Regions from separate parts of the Homo sapiens genome. Here region 1 is linked to region 2. The links are contacts of gene promoters, found by promoter capture Hi-C in blood cells and fetal thymus (Javierre and others, 2016). All regions are on one chromosome and are shown on one strand. The core of a region is centred on a gene start or on the middle of the fragment in contact, and the rest is flanking DNA. Distances in the headings are between cores, read along the strand shown. Region 1 holds the start of JSRP1 (junctional sarcoplasmic reticulum protein 1). Region 2 holds the start of SLC39A3 (solute carrier family 39 member 3).

The links. The method cuts DNA at HindIII sites, captures the fragments that hold promoters and counts their contacts. A CHiCAGO score of 5 or more calls a contact.
Region 1: a contact is called between the fragment with the promoter of JSRP1 here and the fragment with the promoter of SLC39A3 in region 2, in 3 of 17 cell types (total B cells, naive B cells and fetal thymus). The highest score is 5.6, in total B cells.

The regions. Positions count from the first base shown.
Region 1 is chr19:2,255,099-2,259,978 of GRCh38, reverse strand. It overlaps JSRP1 (junctional sarcoplasmic reticulum protein 1), which reads left to right and starts at 3,562. Exons shown (of 7, transcript NM_144616.4): 1 at 3,562-3,596; 2 at 4,635-4,773. The coding sequence starts at 4,665. RefSeq lists an enhancer at 3,808-3,887. The HindIII fragment of the contact is 8,991 bases long and covers 1,224-4,880 here.
Region 2 is chr19:2,738,578-2,743,452 of GRCh38, reverse strand. SLC39A3 (solute carrier family 39 member 3) reads left to right here and starts at 3,436. Exons shown (of 3, transcript NM_144564.5): 1 at 3,436-3,508. RefSeq lists enhancers at 3,155-3,204, 3,905-3,954 and silencers at 3,265-3,664, 4,073-4,340. The HindIII fragment of the contact is 5,051 bases long and covers 1-4,875 here.

The DNA.
Region 1 (4,880 bases), core at 2,313-4,812, 480 kb after region 2:
GAACCCGGGAGGCAGAGGTTGCAGAGAGCCGAGATTGTGCCACTGCACTCCAGTCTGGGTGACAAGAGCGAAACTCCATCTCAAAAAAAAAAAAAAATTAGCTGGGCATGGTGGCATATGCCTGTAATCCCAGCTCCTCAGGAGACTGAGGCAGGAGAATCGCTTGAGCCTGGGAGGCAGAGGTTGCAATGAGCAGAGATGGCCCCACTGCACTGGAGCCTGGGCCACAGAGTGAGACTCTGTCTCATAAATAGAAAATAAAAAATTAGCTGCGTGTGGTGTCAGGCACCTGTGGTCCCAGCTACTCAGGAGGCTGAGGTGGGATGACCACCTGAGCTGAAGAGGCTGAGGCTGTAGTGAGCCCTGATTGCGCCAACGCATGCCAGCCTGGGTGACGGAGATGAGAGCCTGTCTCAAAAAACAAACAAATGAAATCATATTTTGCAGCAACATGGATGGAGCTGGAGATCATCATCCTAAGTGAAATGACTCAGCAACCACCACCCCTGTCTTATTCCAGAACATTCTTGTCACCCTAAATGAAGCTCCATCCCCATCAGCCATCACTCCCCATCCCCTTCCCAGCCCCGGCACCCACAAATCCCCTTCCTGTCTCTGTGAATTGGCCTGTCCTGGACATTTCTTTTTTTTTTTTTTTTTTTTTTTGAGACGGAGTCTCGCTCTGTCGCCCGGGCTGGAGTGCAGTGGCGTGATCTCAGCTCACTGCAAGCTCCGCCTCCCGGGTTCACGCCATTCTCCTGCCTCAGCCTCCCAAGTAGCTGGGACTACAGGCGCCCGCCACCACGCCCGGCTGATTTTTTGTATTTTTAGTAGAGACGGGGTTTCACCGTGTTAGCCAGGATGGTCTCGATCTCCTGACCTCGTGATCCACCCACCTTGGCCTCCCAAAGTGCTGGGATTACAGGCATGAGCCACTGTACCCGGCCCTGTCCTGGACATTTCATAGAAATGGGATCACATACAGCATGGCCTTCTGTGTCTGGCACCTCTCACCGAGCGTGACATCCTTAAAGTGCATTCACGCCATGGCCGCAGTCAGAGCCTCGTTCCTGTTCACGGCTGTGTCGTACTTCACCGTGTGGAAGGGCCACGCTGTGTTGATCCGTGTATCTGAGGATGGAACGCTAGAGCTGCCTACACCATGTGGCTGCGGAGAATCGTGCTGCCCTGAACTTGGGTGTGCAAATATCTGAGTCCAAGCTTCGGATTCCTTTTCGTAGATACCTAGGAGTAGAGTTTCTGCATCTTATGGTCATTCTATTTTAGCTTTTTGAGGAACTGCCAAGCTGTAATATACTTTTAGGAGGGGCCAAGCACTGTGGCTCACGCCTGTAATCCCAACACTTCAGGAGGCCAGAGTGGGCAGATCGCCTGAGGTCAGGAGTTTGAGACCAGCCTGATTAACATGGTGAAACCCCATCTCTGCTAAAAATATGAAAATTAGCCAGGCGCAGTGGTGCATGCCTGTAATCCTAGGTCCTCGGGAGGCTGAGGCAGGAGAATCGCTTGAACCCAGGAGGCAGAGGTTGCAGTGAGCCGAGATCGCGCCATTGCACTCCAGCCTGGGTGACAGAGAGAGACTCCATCTCAACAACAACAAAAAAACTTTTAGGAAGAAAAAATAAATCTAGGTTACAAACAAGATGTTCAGCCCTTCGCTAATTATGCCAGCTTTATAAAAATAAATATGGAACTAATAATAAAATCACAAGTTACAAACAGCGGAAAGAACATGTCAAACTATTAAACAGTGTCTGTTTGGGGGCGGGAAGATGACAGGTGCTTTACAGTTTTTGCTTTCAGCTTCTCTTTGTTTCCTGTTTGTCTCTGCCTTGTGTCATACAGAAAAAAATGAGAGCCATTTCTTTTTTTTTTTCTTTTTGAGACAGAGTCTCGCTCTGTCGCCCAGGCTGGAGTGCAGTGGTGCCATCTCGGCTCACTGCAAACTCTGCCTCCCGGGTTCACGCCATTCTCCTGCCTCAGCCTCCCGAGTAGCTGGGACTACAGGCGCCCGCCACGACACTCAGCTAATTTTTTGTATTTTTAGTAGAGACGGGGTTTCACCGTGTTAGCCAGGAGGGTCTCAATCTCCTGACCTTGTGATCCACCTGCCTTGGCCTCCCAAAGTGCTGGGATTACAGGCGTGAGCCACCGCGCCCGGCCGAGAGCCGTTTCTAAAGCGGAGGGAGTGGGGACCAGGGAACCCCAGCCCTTGCTTTGCTGAAGGCGGGCTGGCCTTCTGGGTCTCTTGGTAGTTCCTGGGGAGGCCCTATTCACTCAGAATTATTATTATTATTTGAGACAGAGTCTCACTCTGTCGCCCAGGCTGGAGTGCAATGATGTGATCTCGGCTCACTGCAACCTCCACCTCCCGGGTTCAAGCAATTCTCCTGCCTCAGCCTCCCCAGTAGCTGGGATTACAGGCATCCACTATCACGCCTCACTAATTTTTGTATTTTTAATAGAGACAAGATTTCACCATGTTGGCCAGGCTGGTGTCAAACTCCCGACCTCAGGCGATCCGCCCGCCTCAGCCTCCCACAGTGCTGGGATTACAGGCGTGAGCCACCGCGCCCGGCCATTCACTCAGGATTTTTAACACACAGGCCTCACCACCAAAATCCACTTCCCCTCTTCCCTCAGGACTCCCAGAGTCACCATGCTTTGCAGGTAGGGCTCAAACATCTGCCTGCAGGCCTTAGAATGTGCCTTTGGGGGCTGAGAGACCCCGGGTCCTCTCCAGAGCAGAGGCGTCAGGTTTCTCTGCATGACGGTGTGGGAGCAGGCAGTTCCGAGTGTATGAGCCTGCCAGAGCCACAGAAACAAATGACCCCAAATACAGTGGCTTTAAACAGCAGGAATGAATGCATTGCAGGGGCTCCCGCCTGGGATCCCAGCACTTTGGGTGGCCAAGGCGAGCGGATCACATGGATTACTTGCGGTCAGGAGTTCGAGAGCAGCCTGGCCAACATAGGGAAACCCTGTCTCTACTGAAAAAAAAATACAAAAATTAGTCCGGGTGCAGTGGCTCACGCCTGTAATTCCAGCAATTTGGGAGGCCAAGGTGGGCGGATTCCGAGGTCAGGAGACCGAGACCATCCTGGCTAACACGGTGAAACCCCATCTCTACTAAAAATACAAAAAAAATTAGCCGGGCGCGGTGGCGGGCGCCTGTAGTCCCAGCTACTCGGGAGGCTGAGGCACGGGAATGGCGTGAACCCGGGAGGCGGAGCTTGCAGTGAGTGGAGATCGCGCCACCGCACTCCAGCCTGGGAGACAGAGCGAGACTCCGTCTCAAAAAAAATTGAAAACTTACCGGGTGTGATGGTGCGCGCCTGTAGTCCCAGCTGCAGGCGCTACGTCTCCCTGGGTGGCAGTGGCGAGTGCTGAGTAGGAGCAATGCCCTGCCCTGCTGCAATGGCAGGGAAGGGTGGGGGACTCCCCGGCTGTGACCTCACTCCAGCGGGCATGCTGATTGGCCCACCCGCGGTCTCTGGCCACCTGTTGCCGTCCATCACGGGGCCACCCTCCCCATCCTCCGTCCTGTCCACAAGGCTCAGCAAAGCGGCTGGCGGGTAAGCGAGGCTCGGGGGTAAGGAAGTGAGGCTGGGGGAATCCCGGGCAGAGGTGTGGGCTCCCGGGGTGTGAAGGGGTGTTGCAGAGGACTGTAAGGGTCCCCAATTCCTGGAGCTGCCCCCATGCACACCCAGGGGCCACACACCAGCCTCCCATGCTTCTTGGGCCCCTCCCCCACTGCCACGCAATAGGCCCCTTCCAGGTCTTGGAGCCCCAGGGCTGGGTGGTTTTTCAGCCTAGATACAGGGACACCCTAATCCCAGCAGCCAGAGGCCATGGGGACCCTGAAGAGTACAGCTTTGGGTCTGACTTGAAGCTCCTTGCGACCTCCAGCCAATGGCACTGTCTCTAGCCTCGGTTTCCTCATCTGTCCTATGGGAACAGAGTTAGTGGGACAAGGCAGGGTACTCTGTGTCAGGATCAGAAGACCCCCAACCACAACCGGGACCCTCCTCCCCTGCCCCGGCCTGTCACGACCAGAGCCAGGATGGTTCTGCTGCTGGGGCCTGAGCCTGTAGACTCACAGGGTCACGCAGCAGGATGTGGGTGCCCAGAATGGCAAGTCAGGGTGGCCCAGAGGGAGACCCCATGAGAGCAGAGGCCTGGGAGGGGCTGGGGCACCTGTTAGCCTGTCCCGCTGGCCTCAGGCACCAGATAAAAATAGTCCCTGGTCTCAGAGAACATGAGCTGACTCTGGGGCCAAGAGTTTCGGTTTGGGGTGCGTCTGGGACTCATTGCTGTGTTGTCCTGCAGGGGCTCCCGCCCTCTCTGGGCCAGAGCAGCCTGGGCTACTGTACTGATGGATACTGGACCCCAGTGAGGCTGGGCGGTAGGGAGGGGTCCCAGGGCAGGCATGCGGGGTCAGAGAGATGCCTGGAGTGGGCGCCGGGCCATGCCTGGCATGAGTATGAATTTGCCGAGTGAGGAGGGGTGGGAGGACGGGGCCTGTTAGTTGGTGTCCGCAGAACCTCCAGGTCAGGCCCAGGCCTGTGGCAGAGACTCAGTAAATGCAAGACCTTGTTCCCCACCCCTCCCAGCCTGGCCTGGGACCTGCTGCTGCTCCAGCCATGTCCATGACAACCAGAGCCTGGGAGGAGCTGGATGGCGGCCTGGGCAGCTGCCAGGCCCTGGAGGACCACTCTGCGCTGGCCGAGACCCAGGAGGACAGGGCTTCAGGTACCCTTGTGGCGCTGGCGGGAGGAAGCCCTTCCCTGATGGTCCCCTTGAGCCAGGAGGCCCATCTTCAGAGACTAGAGCTTCTTAGCCTCCCACACTGGACTGGC
Region 2 (4,875 bases), core at 2,187-4,686:
TCGTCCTGTGGCGTCTACCTGGTGTGCTTATGTTACAAGCCATCTTTTTCTTGTCGTGAGTTATGGAAAGCAGAAACAGAGTCAGATCACTCTGCATCTAATAATAAAAATAGCTACCAGAAACAGTGTGTTCCACATGATGACATCAGCGCCACGCAGGCAGAAAATGGCATTAAATGCTAAGAACTTGTAGATGTCTCATTTATAGCCTCTGTGAAACTGAACTCTGTCTTTTGACGCTTTCAATCTCTGTGCCTCCTCCAGTCTTTCCTATTTTAGTGAGCACCAGAATCCATCGGATGGCTCAAAGCAGAAAACCAGAAGTCACCCCCAACACCTCCTTCTCCTGCAACCCACACAGACAAACCAGTGCTAAGTCCTGTCAATTCACCCTCCAAAATATTTCTCAAATTCACCCACTGTCCTTTCTCCTGTCAATGCCCTCAGCTAAACTACCGTCAAGTCTTTTCTTAGAAATAGAGATAGGGTCTCACTATGTTGCCCAGGCTGGTCTCGAACTCCTGGGCTCAAGCGATCTTCCTGCAATGGCTTCCCAATGTGCTAGGATTACAGGTGTGCGCCAAGGCACCCAGCCCAACTCTTGCCCAGAGGGCTCTGAAGTAGTCTCCCTGCTTCCATTCTTGCTTCTCTATAATTCAGCCTTTCTTTACACACGAGTCAAAATAATCTTAAGAATTAAAATTAGATGACAACCTTCACCTACTTAAAATCCTTCAATGAATCACACTGTAATTACGGTAAAATCCAAGTTCCATAGCACGGTCTATGGGACTGTCCCTAATCTCCCATCTCCCTACTGCTCACGAACATTCAGCCAGGCTGGCTTTCCAACTCCTCAAATGCAGCAAGCCCTTCTCCATCTTTTTGTCAACTATCCTCTCTTCTCTCCCCACTTCTCAGTACTTTTTTTTCTTTTTTTTTTTTTTTTTTGAGACGGAGTCTTGCTCTGTCGCCCAGGCTGGAGTGCAGTGGCATGATCTCGGTTCACTGCGACCTCCACCTCACAGGTTCAAGCGATTCTCCTACCTCAGCCTCCCGAGTAGCTGGGATTACAGGCGCCCACCACCACGCCCTGCTAATTTTTATATTTTTGGTACAGACAGGGTTTCACCATGTTGGCCAGGCTGGTCTTGAACTCCTGACCTCAAGTGATCCACCCACCTCAGCCTCCCAAAGTGCTGGGATTATAGGTGTGAGCCACCACACCTGGCCTTCTCAGTACATTTGACTTGGCTAATTCCTGCACAGAAGTCTCTCTCATTCTTTCTTCACAGAACTTAGTACAACCTATAGTTTTTCTAGTATGTATGTGTATTAGTTACCTACTGCCATATGACAAATTTTCCCCCAAACTTAGTGCCAGCAGGCATTGTGGCTCATGCCTGTAATCTCAGCACTTTGGGAGGCTGAGGTGGGAGGGTTTCCTGAATCCAGGAGTTCAAGACTGGCCTGTGTGACATTAGGTAAAAAATTAGCTGGGCATGGTGGCACATGCTCCCAGCTACTCGGGAGGCTGAGGTGGGAGGACTGCTTGAGCCCAGGAGGTCATGGCTGCAGTGAGCTGTGATTGCACCACTGCACTCCAGCCTGGGTGATGGGGCAGGACCCTGTCTCAAAATACAAGCAAACAAACACAAAACTAAGTGGCTAGAACAGCATGTGTTATCTCAGTTTCTGTGGGTGAGGAATTCAGATGCAGTTCATATGGGTCTTCTGTTTTCAGGGTCTTTGTTTTTCTTTCTTTCTTCTTCTTCTTCTTCTTTTTTTTTCTTTTGAGACAGGGTCTCACTCTGTTGCCCAGGCTGGAGTGTAATGGTAATGATTTCAGCTCGCTGTCACCTCTGCCTCCTGGGTCCAAGTGATTCTGATGCCTCAGCCTCCTTAGTAGCTGGGACTACAGGTGCCCGCCACCATGCCTGGCTAATTTTGGTATTTTTAGTAGAGATGGGGTTTTGCCGTGTTGGCCAGGCTAGTCTCAAACTCCTGACTTTAAGTGACCTGCCTACCTCGGCCTTCCAAAGTGCTGGGATTATAGGCATGAGCTACCACATGCAGCCCTGTTTTAGGGTGTTTCAAAGGCTGCAATTGAAGTGAAGCAGTCATCCAAAGGCTCAACTGGGGCAGGACCCTCTTCCATGATCACGTTCATGGCTGTTGGTAGCATTTGGTTCCTTATGGACGCTTGTGCTGAGGGTCTCATTGCCTTGCTGACTGTTGGCTGGAGGACACCCTCAGTTCCTTTCCCTCTGGATCTCTCCAGCATCTTAGCTTGCTTTGTCAAGACACGTAGGCTGAGAAGGCGAGAGACAGGCTCTGCTGGCAAAACAGAAGTCACAATCTCTCATAGCCTAATCGCAGAATGACATCCCATTCATTTGCCATTTTCTATTTGTTAGAATCAAGTCATCAGGCCAAGCGCAGTGGCTCATGCCTGTAATCCCAGCACTTTGGGAGGCCAAGGTAAGAGGATCACCTGAGGTCAGGAGTTCAAGACCAGCCTGGCCAACATGGTGAAACCCCGTCTCTACTAAAAACACAAAAATTAGCCGGCATAGTGGCACACGCCTATAATCCCAGCTACTCGGGAGGCTGAGGCAGGAGAATCGCTTGAACACGGGAGTCGGAAGTTGCAGTGAGCCAAGATCGCGCCATTGCACTCCAGCCTGAGTGACAAGAGCGAGACTCTGTCTCAAAAAAAACCTTTTTTTTTTTTTTAGAGATGGGGTCTCACTATGCTGCCCAGGCTGGCCTTGAACTCCTGGACTCAAGCGATCCTCCCGCCTCGGTCTCTTAAAGTGCTGAGATTACAAGTGTGAGCCACTGCGCCCTGCCAAGATTTGGTTTTTAACTTACGCGTTACCTCCTATACTTATTTTTTCATGGTTTGAACATGTAACATCTACTTTCTTAGCAATTTTGCAGTATGCAATGCATTGTTACGAGCTGTAGCCACCATGATGTACAGTCGATCTCTTGGACTTACTCCTCCTGCCTATCAACAGAGATTTGTTGAAGGGATGAATCTGCTTCTTCAGCCGTCGGTAAGGGGATCAGCAGCGAGGACGCTGAGAGAGGAGCCGCCTCCGTTGGAAATCCCTTCCCATCCACCTCCAAGCCTCTTTCCAAGCGGGATTCAGCACCAGGCGCCCCTGGACAGCTCTGGAAACCCAACCCTGCCGGAACCGTTCCTCGCCAATCCGGGTTTCCCGCCGGGGCCGCTTGGTGGCTGCGCCCGCCGCTCAGCGGGAGGAAACCCCTTTCCTGTGCCGGTAGGAGAGGTGGAGTCGCATATGAGTGGCAGGTTTCGCAGCCAATAGTATGGAAAGTTCTGCCAGCGGGTCTCGGGGAGGCCAATGGGCAGGGGCGTGGGCGGGGCGTGGACCAGCCGCGCCGAGCGGGGCCTCTCCGGGCCGCGTCTGTGGGGTCGAGACTGCGCGGCCGTTGGGCGTGCAGCGGCGCCAGTCGGCGGACGAGGGGCCCCCGGGAGGTAGGTGCGGGCAGAGAGAGGACCTGGGGCGGCGGGGCGGGGCGGCGCTGAGCGGCCGGGGGTCTGTTGGACTCTACCCGCACGTTAGCCGAGGCCCGTCTCCGGTGCCCGGTAGCGCGAGGCACACAGAAGGCGCTCAATAAGTGCTGATTGAATGAATGAGCCCGTGCCCTCCTCATCCCGGCCCGAGCAGCCTCCGGTTTGAGAGCGTGCAGGCCACCCTCACCTTCACTGTACAGACTGAGGTATCCAGATGCCGGACAGGTCTTTATTGGGCGCCTACTGTGTGCCTGGGTGGCTCTGCGCTGGGTGCAGCTGGCCCTGAGCAAGACAGACAGCCTGGTCCCGCCCAGCTCACCGCCGGGGGGGAGGGACGACTTTAAATGACTTAAAATAATGTAATTCCTAGCTCCCTCTGTAGCACAAAATAAAAGAAAATAACACCAGGGAAGGGGGCGGGGAGAGCTCTGAGTGGAGACATCTGAGCAGTGACCCGAAGACCTGAATGCAGTGAGGTAGCGGGGCCATGAGGCGCTTGGGGCTGATGGTGGGGGAGAAAACCCAGTTGGGGAAAACTCAAGGACAGGGGAGGAGCTGAGATTCCTCCTAAGAACGGTGACATTTTGGGGTCCAGGGTGAAACCGACTTCACTTTGGCCCATTGCATCAGGTAAAATGCGGCCCTTATCAGTGGCCACACGCTTCCCCTCGTCCATGTGTTCAGCCAGCGGTTTTTGAGTATCTGTTCTGCAGCAGGCCTTCCGGCGGGTACAGGGATATGGTTTAGGGCAGGAGTCAGCCAGGGGCAGAGAGGGAGGCCCTTTTTTTTTTTTTTTTTTTTTTTTTGAGACGGAGTCTTGCTCTGCAGCCCAGGCTGGAGTACAATGGCGCGATCTCGGCTCACTGCAAGCTCCACCTCCTGGGTTGAAGCAATTCTCCTGCCTCAGCCTCCCGAGTAACTGGGATTACAGGCACGTACCACCATGCCCAGCTAATTTTTTTTTTTTTTGAGACAGAGTCTTACTCTGTCACCCAGGCTGGAGTGCAATGGCTTGATCTTGGCTCACTGCAACCTCCACCTCCTGGGTTCAAGTGATTCTCCTGCCTCAGCCTCCCAAGTAGCTGGGATTACAGGTGCCCACTACCACACCCAGCTAATTTTTGTATTTTTAGTAGAGACAGTGTTTCACTGTGTTGGCCAGGCTGGTCTTGAACTCTCGACCTCAGGTGCTGGTCTCGAACTCTCGACCTCAGGTGATCTGCCCACCTCAGCCTCCCAAAGTGCTGAGATTACAGGTGTGAGCCACCACTCCCAACCGAGGGAGGCCCTTTTGAGGGGTCCTGGATGCAGAGAAGCAAGAAAGAAGA